2 separate regions of the Homo sapiens genome follow, and region 2 is linked to region 1. Evidence: promoter capture Hi-C in human tissues and cell types (Jung and others, 2019). All regions are on one chromosome and are shown on one strand. Each heading gives the region's core, a stretch centred on a gene start or on the middle of the fragment in contact. The rest is flanking DNA. Distances are from core to core; before and after follow the strand shown.

Region 1 (6,071 bases), core at 1,434-3,933:
GTGAGGGGTGGGGTTGGGAGGAAATGAGGTAGGTCTCCACGTGCTTATGAAGGAAATGTGTCCTTATATTATCATCAGTTGCCGAGCAATATTATAATATAATACCCTCCTAGGGAATGGAATTGAGGATGTAAAGAGTGAACAAACAAGGAATTCTAACTTGACATACCTCTGCGCTGTCTGAATTTTACTTGATATTCTTCTGTCATGTTTAAATGTTTTAAACAACCTGAATGTTACTTTAATCATTTAAAAAGTAAAACGGGCTAGGTACGGTGGCTCACGTCTGTAATCCCAGCACTTTGGGAGGCCGAGGCGGGGGGGGGTTACCTGAGGTCAGGAGTTCGAGTCTCTACTAAAAATACAAAAATTAGCTGGGCGTGGCGGCGGGCGCCTGTAATCCCAGTTTACTTGGGAGGCTGAGACAGGAGAATCGTTTAAACCTGGGAGGCGGAGGTTGCAGTGAGCCACGATAGCGCCATTGCACTCCAGCCTGGGCAACAAGAGCAAAACTCGGCCTCAAAAATTATATATATATATACATAAGTTAAAAATAAACTTTAGGCCGGGCACAGTGGCTCACGCCTGTAATCCCAGCACTTTGGGAGGCTGAGGCAGGTGGATCACGAGGTCAGGAGATCGAGACCATCCTGGCTAACACGGTGAAAACCCGTCTTTACTAAAAATACAAAAAATTAGCCGGGCGTGGTGGTGGGCGCCTGTAGTCCCAACTACTAGGGAGGCTGAGGCAGGAGAATGGCGTGAACCCAGGACGTGGAGCTTGCAGTGAGCCGAGATCTTGCCACTGCACTCCAGCCTGGGAGACAGAGCAAGACTCTGTCTCAAAAAATAAATAAATAAATAAATTTAAAAATAATAATAATACACTTTAAAAGGCCAGGCGCGGTGCCCACACCTGTAATCCCAGTACTTTCAGAGACCGAGGCAAGCGGATCACTTGAGGTCAGGAGTTCAAGACCAGCCTGGCCAACATGGTGAAACTCTCTCTCTACTAAGAATATAAAAATTAGCCAGGCATGGTGGCAGGCGCCTGTGATCCCAGCTACTCGGGAGGCTGAGGCTGTAAAATCCCTTTAACCCTAGAGGTGCAGGCTGCAGTGAGCAGAGATCGGGCCACTGTACTTGTAGCCTGGTCAACGAGGGAGACTCTGTCTCAAAAAAAACAGAAAAGGAAAATGAGGATAAAATACGATAAATTCTTTACCTTGGCCCCCAGAAGTGAATTCAGAATTCAGAAAAGACTAGCCAGTGTAAGGCTGCTGTAACCCTAGTTGACAGAGAGGAGGGATTGGGGTGGTGAGTGGGAAGGCTGTGTCTCCGGAAGAAGAAATATACGTCCCCACCTCACTCTAATTAAACCTGCTTTTCCAGCGCGATAAATATTCAAGATAACTTTTGGTTTGCATTTCAATAACAAAGTCTTGCACCACTATCTTCAGTTTAAAAAAAAAGTTTAATGTTTGCTCTACGTTTGAAATGCATGCAGGTTTAAAAGACAAGAAACAAAATGATGAAAAAGTGTGACCGGCCTGAGAGTTCAGAGCCTCTGAAGTGTCAAGGGATCCACAGTGCAGGTAGGATGAAGAGTCTGAGAAGGGAGATGGGATCCTCCGAAAAGAGAAAATCGGGTCTTACAGCGCGATGTAAGACGATGCGGATGCCACTTCCCTCCCACCCCGTCCCGTCCGAGGCCTCCGCCCCCTGCCCCTCCGCACCCCCCGACCCAGGCACGCGCAGCGGGGAGCAGCCCAGCCTAGCCCGTCTCACTGCTTTGGTTTTGAAAGGTCACGTATTTACCTTAGAATTTCAGCACCTTCCAACTTACTGTTTTAAGTACCTTTAACCAGCCTATTGGCTAAAAACCGAAACGGTCCTACCCGCGACTACCACTGCTCCAGTGACAATGCTCTGCTGCTACTTATTTAACGGAGCTCAAGGTTTATAATTCTCGAAAGAATGTTGTTCCCCTTCCCTTTCCCCTCCCGCCTCTGTACTTGACTCTCGTAAGAATGAAATCAGAAAAGTGCAGAAAACACAGGCTCCTAGCAATGGTTCGGGGCAAACGGGAGGGGCGAAGAAGGGCTGGAGCCGCCCCGGGGCCCTCGCTCCGGCCTCGGGAGGGCGTCGCGGCCGCAGCAGGGCGTCCCGAAAACCGTCGCCTCCGTGCCCGCCGCGCGAGAAGGTGAAAGGCACGAGATGGAGCCTCTCCAGCCCTCCCCAGGAACGCAACCTGACGGCGTGACAGCGCGGCAGGGCAGCCTCCCCGGGCTGCTTGCGGGTCGCGGCGGCGCCACGGTCACGGTCGGCCCGAAGGGACGCGGGCAGGGGCAAGAAGGGGCGGCGGGGGCTCCGCGGGCCCGAGTCTGCAGGCCGGCGCCGAACGCAGGGAAAACCCGGCTGGACGGCCCCACAGCCCCCAGAAGGCCGGGCCGGACAGGGCCCGACGAGGGAGCCTCCTTACGCGCGGGCGGCGGGCGCGAGCCCTCTACGGTTGCCTGGCGCCGGAGACCCACAGACAGGACTCACCCAGCTTCCTCAAACGCCCACGCCGACTTCAGGCGCGCGCGCAGGAAGGAGACTGCTGCGCCACAACCCTGCCGGCGTCCCGCGGCTCCACCTCAGCCCCGGGAGCCCGGAGCTGGGAGCAGACGCGAGGATAGAGCGCCGGTGAGGCGGGGCGAGGCGCCGTGTGCACCGCAGCGACCAATCGGAGCGCAGCAAGTGGCCGGCCGGGGGCGGGGCGGGACGCGAGGGGGCGGGGAGAGGGCGTTGGCTGGGCGCAGCGGGACGCCGGGCGCTCCTCGCGACCAATCGGCGTGCAGCAAGTGGCCGGCCGGGGGCAGGGCGAGCTCCGAGGGACGGGGTGGGCTGCTCTGCAGGCCTCCCGGAGCCGGAGTTCAGACCCAGCTATCTACGGTTCCGGGCAGAGCGGGACGGGCCTCTCCTGTCCCCTGCCGGTGGGCGGCCGCCGCCGGGCTCCCACTGCTGCGTTTCTGCACGCTGACTTGAAGTGCAGTACCGTGAGATTACGTGCGGACGGAGCTCGAGACCCGGGGGACCAGGGTTTCCCTTCGCCTATGGCCGATCAGTCTTGTCTGTCTGCGAGCTGCCCAGAGTAGGGAAGGTGCTCCGGGAGGGTTCTCGGGAACGGAGGGTCTTTAGAGATGCCTTTTTCTAATCCCCTCAATTCAGAAATGGAGCCCCAGAAAGTTGAAGTTAGTAAACCAGGGCTACCCAGCGAGTGCTGGTTACCCGAGGTGATCCTCACAATACAACTAGTCTTCTGATTTCGCTCGGCGCTCTCCCGTCTATTCACGTAGATTTTTGTCTTTTTTTTTTTTTTTCGTCTTTCTTATAGTCAGATATCTTTCAGCCTCTTGGATTTTCAACATAACTTTAACAGCGTTTGGAAGCCCCGTCTAAATTTCCTACAGAAATGCCTATAACCATTTAGTTGTTTGGGGGAAAGTCGAGCTTTGTTTTTTGGGTGGTTTGTTTGTTTGTTTTGAGACAGGGTCTTGCTCTGTTGTCCAGGGTGGAGTGCAGTGGTGTGATCTTGGCTCACTGCAGCCTCTTACCTCCCACGCTCAATCAATCCTCCCACCTCAGCCTTCCGAGTAGCTGGGATTACAGGTGCGCACCACCATGCTTGGCTAATTTGTGTATTTTTAGTAGAGACGGGATTTCACCTGGCTGATCCTGAACTCCTGACCTCAGGTGATCCACCCGCCTCTGCCTCCCAAAATGCTGGGATTACAAGCGTGGGCCACTGTGCCCAGCCAAGTAGAGTTATTATCAGTGGAAATCTAAAAAGCATTTTACTTGAGGCATAATGAAGTAAAAGGTTTTGTATCATGGAATTATCACCAAAAATGCCATCCTGGATAATGTTCTCCTATAGCTCTTATACATGGGCTAGGATCTAGGTGTTCAATAAATATGTGCTGAATAATTTACTTTTGAAATATGTCACAATGCTGGCATTCCACCAGAAGAGAGGATACAGAAGGGAACACTCTCCTCTCTTTAAGAACCTTTTGAAAGGGGCGGGGGTTGCATGTACCATTTTTGTTTTCATTCTGCTAGTAAAATAGTCACTTGACTACACCAAATTGCAAAGAAGGCTGGAAAATGGGGTTTCAGTACTAAGGAAGGAAAACTAGATATTAGGGGACAATTAGAAGTTTCCAAATCTCATCACTTTTTTTGGGGGGGTGGGGGAGGCATCCCAAAGGGCAGACTGGTTTATTAGGCAGCAGCCAGGAAAATCAGCGGTTGGACTTGTCCCCACACTCCAGCTCATCCTTCTTGTTGATGGCATAGGAGCTGGAGGAGGCCTTGGTGGCATTGATGAGCTCATCCGCCAGGCACTCAGCAATGGTCTTGATGTTCCAGAAGGCAGCCTCACGAGTGCCTGTGCACAGCAGCCAGACGACCTGATTCACACAGTGCAGTGGGGACATGTCCACAGCCTGTTGTCTCACAGTCCCTGCTCGCCCAATGCATGTGGAGTCCTCCCAGGGACCACTGTTGATGATGGCGTTCACCAGGACCTGGAGAGGGTTCTCGCCTGTGAGCAGGTGGATGAAATCGAAGGCATGCTTGATGATGCACATGATCATGAGCTTGTTGCTGTTGTTGCAGCCGTGCATCATCATGGAGTTAGTGAGGGGCTCCACAATGGGGCACTGAGCTTTGCGGAAGCATTTGGCTGCATACCACCCAGCACTGTGAGGCAGGTACTTGGCATACTTCTCCTTCACTGCAGTGTAATCCTGCAGGGAAATGCCATTGATCTGCATATCATCAGTGCTCCACTTCCCAGAGAGCTTGATGTCAAGGGGTCTCTGCCACTGCTGGTGCTGCTGTCTCCCACTCGGTCATCCTGAGGGCACAGCCTGAGTGTCTCTGTCGATCAGCATGGACCACATGCTGCCCTGGCACAGACAGGCCATTGCTTTTTAAAGTACTAATATTTTAAGGTTTCCCAGGATTTTTTTAAGCTTTGTTACAGAATAATATCTGTAGAAAAATGATTACCTCCATATATGAAGGAAGACATTACTGTTCACCTACCGTTGGGATGCACATGCTTTAAGTTGCTTTTTTAGTAGTGGAGACTTATGTTAATGCAGCTTGTCTGAAGTCCTTTTCTACTGCTATAACAGAATAACACAGAACAGGCAATTTATAAACAATAGTGTTTTATTTGGTCCACAGTTCTGGAAGCCGGGAACTCCAAGAGCATGGTGCTGGCATCTTGTAAGGATTTTCATGCTGTGTCATCCCATGGTAGAAAACAAGACAGACAGGGGCCAACGAGCATACAAGACAGAAGGAGAAAATCAGGCTGACGCTATCCTTTTACCAAGAGCCCAATCCCAAGATAACTAACCCACTCCCACAATAACAGCATTAATCCATTCGTGAGGGTGGAGCCCTCATGACCCAATCACATCTTCAAGGTTCTACCTCTCAACACGATTACAATAGTAATTAAGTTTCAAACACATGAACTTTTTGGGGACACATTCAAACCATAGCACAATTTGCTTCTCTCAGTCTATAAACCTCTATTCCACAAAGAGTCAAACATGTATTTAGTTATGCTTTCAAAAATATGGGCATTTGGCCGAGCACAGTGCCTCACACCTGTAATCCCAGCACTTTGGGAACCAGAGGCGGTTGGATCACCTGAGGTCAGGAGTTCCAGATCAGCCTGGTCAACATGGTAAAATTCCGTCTCAACTAAAAAGAAAAAACAATTAGCTGGGCATGGTGATACATGCCTGTAATCCCAACTACTCAGGAGGCTGAGGCAGGAGAATCACTTGAATCCGAGAGGCAGAGGTTGCAGTGAGCCAAGATCACGCCACTGCACTCCAGCCTGGGCGACAGAACAAGACTCCGTCTCAAAAAAAAAAAAAAAAAAGGCATTTGAAAGATACGGGGATTAAGTTGCTGATGTCAACATTTCGCTGTCAATTCCAAATGTACTGATTTAAGTATTTAGTAGAATTGTAAATCAGCCTTTAAAAAAAAAAACCACA
Region 2 (6,040 bases), core at 957-3,456, 760 kb before region 1:
TTTCCCATATGTCAACATGGATGATTTCCCATATATCAACATGGATGATTTCCCATGTCAACATGGATGATTTCCCATATGTCAACATGGATGATTTCCCATATATCAACATGGATGATTTCCCATATGTCAACATGGATGATTTCCCATATGTCAACATGGATGATTTCCCATATGTCAACATGGATGATTTCCCATATGTCAACATGGATGATTTCCCATATGTCAACATGGATGATTTCCCATATATCAACATGGATGATTTCCCATATATCAACATAGATGATTTCCCATATGTCAACATGGATGATTTCCCATATGTCAACATGGATGATTTCCCATATGTCAACATGGATGATTTCCCATATGTCAACATGGATGATTTCCCATATATCAACATGGATGATTTCCCATATATCAACATGGATGATTTCCCATATATCAACATGGATGATTTCCCATATATCAACATGGATGATTTCCCATATGTCAACATGGATGATTTCCCATATGTCAACATGGATGATTTCATTGAGTGAAAGGAGCTAGATACCAAAGAATACACAGAGAATGACTCCATTTATGTTAAGCTGAAAAACACTTAAAACTATTCCATGATGTAAGAGGTCTGAATAGTGATTATCTTTGCAGATCATAATAAAGATAACTGGGAAGGAGCATGAGGGGATTATTCTCTGGAAAGCTCTCTGGTATGCTAGTAATAATATTCTATTTCTCAACCCAGTTGTGGTAATAAGGGTATGTTCATTCTATAATAATATATCAAGCTGTATGTTTAAGATTTATATACTTTTCTACATGTATTATAATTTAAAAAGCTTATTATTTTAAAAAAATACATTTGAGCAGACGGAACAGCATATGTAAAGACCCTGACGCCAGAAAGAATTTGGTACATTCAGAACTGAAAGGCGGCCAATGAGGTTAGAACATAGAAACCAAGAGGTAAAGTGGTAACAGGTTGAAGAGGGAAGCAGAAACTCGATTTTATTGTAGGTCATCTTAGAGTTTAGATTTTAACTTCAGTGGCCAATCACTGAAGAGTATTAGGCAGGGGATTAATAAGATCTAAACCATGTTTTTTAAAAGACTGGGGTGTAGGCGTGGTAAGTAGAAGCAGAGGGACCAGTTAAGGAGGGAATTGTAATGATCCATGAAAGAGACAACAGTGTCTTGATTGAAACAGAGCCAGCTAAATGCAGGCAGTTGCATGGAATCTCAAGGAAATTAAGAGGAGGAATTGACTAGACTTGGTAATAGAGAGAATGTGTGAAATGTGAGGGGAAGAGGTGTTGAGGATGATTCTTAAGTTGTTTGAAACAACTTGGTAGATGGAGTGCAATCCATTGACATAAGGGAGACTGAAGGAAAGATCAGGTTTGAGGATATGCAGTGGTTGGTAAGACCATCAATACGGTACCTATTCCAACTCTTCCTCATTTGGTAGCCACCAAACAGTTTGTGATACTATGGAAATCACAGAAATTTCTACCTTCTTCTGCCAATGATCTACCTGATGCAAACAGCACATGATATCTCAACAGTCATTTTTGGTTCAGGAATACACAAACACTCAATCCGGTGCAAGGGGAAGTGCATTTTCCTTTTGTGGGTTCTAACCCATTATCTGAGTTTCAAAAAGCTGGATCTCAATTGTGTCATCCAACATAATTATTCAACCCAGCTCTCATCAATCCTACGTCACTTTGCCACAACTAAAAATCTGAAAACTGTACTTTCTACTCCATTCTCTAAGAGAATTGATAAAACTGGGAACAAGATAGGCCAAAGATATATTCCCAATGCTAACCAAGGAAAGACAACTAATGAGCACTAAGGTACAACCAGCTAGAAATTTATTTAATTATAAGATTCTGGAATTTAAAAATAAAAACAAAAAGAGGCCGGGCACGGTGGCTCACGCCTGTAACCCCAGCATTTTGGGGAGCTGAGGCAGGTGGATCACTTGATGTCAGGAGTTCGAGACCAGCCTGGCCAGTAAGGTGAAACCTGTCTCTAATAAAGAGATACAAAAATCAGCTGGGCATGGTGGTGCACACCCATAATTTCAGCTACTCGGGATGCTGAGGCAGGAGAATCACCTGAACCCAGGAGGCTGAGGTTACAGTGAGCCAAGATCATGCCACTGCACTCCAGCCTGGGCAACAAAGTGAGACTCTGTCTCAAAAAAAAAAAAAATTGAAAAAAGAAGATTCATTCTACTTATAGTTCACACATGGTCCACAGGATATTAAATGATTTTGTTTATCTATATTTCAGCAACACATTCAAGAGATTACAGCAATCCTATGGTCCACTAGTGAACAGAATGAAACATAACTCATAATAAATATTTATTGCTAAGAGCTAGTTATATAAGTAAACACACCTTTATATATAAAAAGTTAAATAAGACTATAATGAAATAGAAACACAAAATTTTAATAAGTACATTTAACATATAGAAATATTTAATGTTTTGAGACAATAAAGTTTTTTTTTAATTTTTTTCTTTTCACTGACTCAGTTGGCCCAGAATTATCCAGGAATTTCAAGGGTCTAAAATTTTTTCATTCTGAACTGAGGAAGTAATGAGTATCCAACCAAGAAGAATTTATATATCTCTCCAAATGCCAAATTTATTTTCTCCAAGTGCCAAATCATTCATCATTTGGTTCAGTAGCTATGAAATGCAACCCAATGTGAATGCATGTGCTCACATACGTAACACTACTGATCAGCAATGGCTTATATTTATAAACTCTATTTAAGCTGGAAAAAGATAAAATACAAATTCTTATTAACAACCATTAAAACACTCAAAGCAAATTTTAATTGTCACCAGTAAAAATCATGCACAATTTTTAAAACTATACTTCCTTTTGATACTCTAACAAGGCTAAACAATTGCACTAGCCCATTCCACTCTTTATTGCTTCTTTCACTTTGTATGCTTCTTTCAAAATTTCACTGATTCAGACTTTATAATCTCAAAAGTTTTGAAAATGTTGGTATTGGATACTAAGAAAGGTAATACTACAATATTAAACTGCTAGTCATTATAATTAGCTCATATTTTTTCAACCTTCGAATGTCTGAAAAGTCTTTACATCTTCATTTGTGGTTGGGTACAAAACTCTAGGTGAATGGTTTGGTTTGGTTTCTTCCTTCCAGTACTTTAAAGATGTTCCCAATGTCCTCTGGCTTGGATTGCTTGCAAAGAAAAGTCTACTATCATTCTTATCTTCACTCTTCTGTAAATGTGTGTCTTTTCTTCCTTGGGCTACTTTTAAGATCTTCTCTGTATCACTGGTAAACAGTAACTTGATCATGTATTTGGGTATAGTGTTCTGCTTTATGTTCATTTAGCTTCTTGGATATGTGGATTCATAGCTTTCATGAAATTTGCAAAAGTGCCAGCTATTATTTCTTCAAGTGTTTTTCTTCCCTACCAACTTCTTTCTGGGATCCACATATTCATGTATATTGGGTCACCGGAAGTCGTCCTGCAGTTCACTGATGCTCTGTGTATTTATTTATTTTAGCCTTTTTTCTCTCTGTATTTTATTTTGGACAGTTTCTATTACTATGTCTTCAAGTTTGCCAATCATTTCTTCTACAATGTCTAATATAGTAATCCCTACCACATCTAGAAGTCTAATTTGGGTCTTTCACTTTTTTTTTTTTTAGAGACGGAGTCTTGCTCTGTTGCCCAGACTGGAATGCAATGGCATGCTCTTGGCTCACTGCAACCTCCAACTCCTGGGTTCAAGTAATTCTCCTGCCTCAGCCTCTCGAGTAGCTGGGATTACAGGTGCCTGCCACCACGCCCGGCTAATTTTGTATTTTTAGTAGAGATGGGATTTCACCATGTTGGCCAGGCTGGTCTTGAACACCTGACCTCAGGTGATCCGCCCACCTCGGCCTCCCAAAGTGCTGGGATTAACAGTGTAAGCCACCGTGCCTGGCCTCTTTCACATTTTTCATATCTCGTCTTAACAGGTTCATTTTTTCCTCTACTTGTTGAACATATGGAGTATATTTACAATAGCTGTTTTAATGTCCTTGTCTATTACAGCATCTGTTTCTACATTTGACTTTGCTCCTTATGAGGTATATTTTCCTATATTCCTATAAATATTCTTAAACTTCGTTCTGGGATACAGTTATTTGGAAGTTCGGTTACTTGGAAACAGTGGCATCCCTTTGGGTCTTGCTTTTAAGCTTTGTTAGGGAGGGCTGGAGTGGAATTTAGTCTAGGACTACTTTGCCCCTTTACTGAAGCAGTATACCCTTTGCAGTACTCAACCTAATTCTCCATGCAGGACTTCTCCACTCTAGTTGTTAAACATGAACTATTCCCAGCCCTGTGTGAGCTCCAGAAATTTTTCTGCCTACTCCTTTTTGGTGATTCTTTCCCTGCCTCAAATGGTTTCCTTACACACTGGCACCGATCAACACTGAGCTGAAGTCTCAAACGGAGTCCTCTACAGATCTCTGGAGCTCTTTGTGCAACTGTCTCATCTCTAGTACACAGCCCTGAGATTCTGGCTGCCTTGGCCTCCCCATATTCCCTACTCAGGAATCCTGTCAAGCTTTGCTTGAGTGACTCTTCTGCTGCTGTGGCCTGGAAGCTCTCCAGGCAGTAAGCTGGAGCATTCATAAAACCCACCTCATTTGTTTCCCTTCTCTCAGGGGTCAGCATCTTGTGCTGCCTTTTGTTCAAGGTCTGCAAATCATTCCATGTATTTTGTTCATTTTGTTGTTGTTACTTAAGGTAGGAGGGTAAATCTAGTTCCTGTTACTCCACTATGGTCAGAAGCTCCCGTTATAGTCCTGAGTTACGTATATTTTATAGGACAAGTTAGAACATCTGATAGACCTGAGATGATGTAATAAAAAGCCACAGAGTTTTTACTATTCAGTGAGAGTGGAAGTTCTGCCTTTCCTTTTTATTTCCTCATAGCAAAGTTAAGTGGTGAAGAAATGAAAGCACTTAAGAACTAACTACTGGTTTGACCCTAGGTCAATCCTACTACCAACCCAGAATAAAAAAGTTTGGTTGATTTTCTTTTTAAAGAGTTGACATTTAAGTTACTTTCTATTAAATACGTACATTCCTCAGACTACAGGGGCACATAAAAAAAGAAAGAAAATAAATATGCACCTTCCAAAGGTATTTATAAAAAGAAAATGAATTTTTGCAACCCTAACATAAAGTGATATATAACAAGTCTAAATTTCATGATTTCTCTGCTGAAAAAGTCAACTATAAAAAGTCACTTCTTCCCTCAACTTGCAAATTTTTCTTTAAAAGAGACAGGACACTGCAACTTATCTAAAGGGCAATCATGTTGACAGCGTTTGGCAATTAAAAAAAAAAAACAAACTACACACACTGTTTGGCATTACCACCTACTATATTTATCCAAAAGTCTAGAACCTGACATTTAACTTGGCCCAGGAAAGAAACTTTGTTTTTAATGACTTTACTGTAAATTAAACCATACTTTCTCCTCTAATATATTAATATGTTAATAGTTTGTAGGGAAAAACACAAGTGTACAGTTCCCTCATTAGAAAATGCTACCAATTACACTCTTAACCTTAACGCCTTCCCTTATTTTTACACTTCATTCCCCACCCCTGAAAATAATAGCCACACAATATATGGTAATACAATAGCCTCACAACAGCACAAACAATAATTACAGTAAAAAAAAATTAAATGGTAGGACTATGTCATTGGGGCAGTTATCTTTCCAATCCTCAGTTTCCAAATCTCTGAAATGTGGATAAAAGCACAATCTGAACTGAATGAAATAAAGTGTGTCAAATGCCACATCTCCTGAACTGTGTGCTCAGATGCCCCACGGCACTACAGCAAACTCCCAGGGAAGCTGCATATTTTAAACAGAAGGAAACACTGAGATTCTCAACACATGCTGGAAACCAGCCAAACTATTAACCTGAGGTGCTTGAGTTGTCATATTAGATTGCAGTGCATTCCTTGGATGAT

The links. Contacts are between HindIII fragments. The study calls those that stand out against the background at their distance.
Region 2: a contact is called between a fragment that was not itself captured here and the fragment with the promoter of TMEM50B in region 1, in 1 of the 25 tissues and cell types used here (dorsolateral prefrontal cortex).

The regions. Positions count from the first base shown.
Region 1 is chr21:33,477,291-33,483,361 of GRCh38, forward strand. It overlaps TMEM50B (transmembrane protein 50B), which reads right to left and starts at 2,684. Exons shown (of 7, transcript NM_006134.7): 1 at 2,548-2,684. It also overlaps the pseudogene RPS5P3. The HindIII fragment of the contact is 12,756 bases long and covers 1-6,071 here.
Region 2 is chr21:32,713,268-32,719,307 of GRCh38, forward strand. All of the region lies in intron 2 of SYNJ1 (synaptojanin 1), which reads right to left. Among named protein-coding and RNA genes, the nearest start is that of SYNJ1, 12 kb to the right of the region's middle. The HindIII fragment of the contact is 4,447 bases long and covers 1-4,430 here.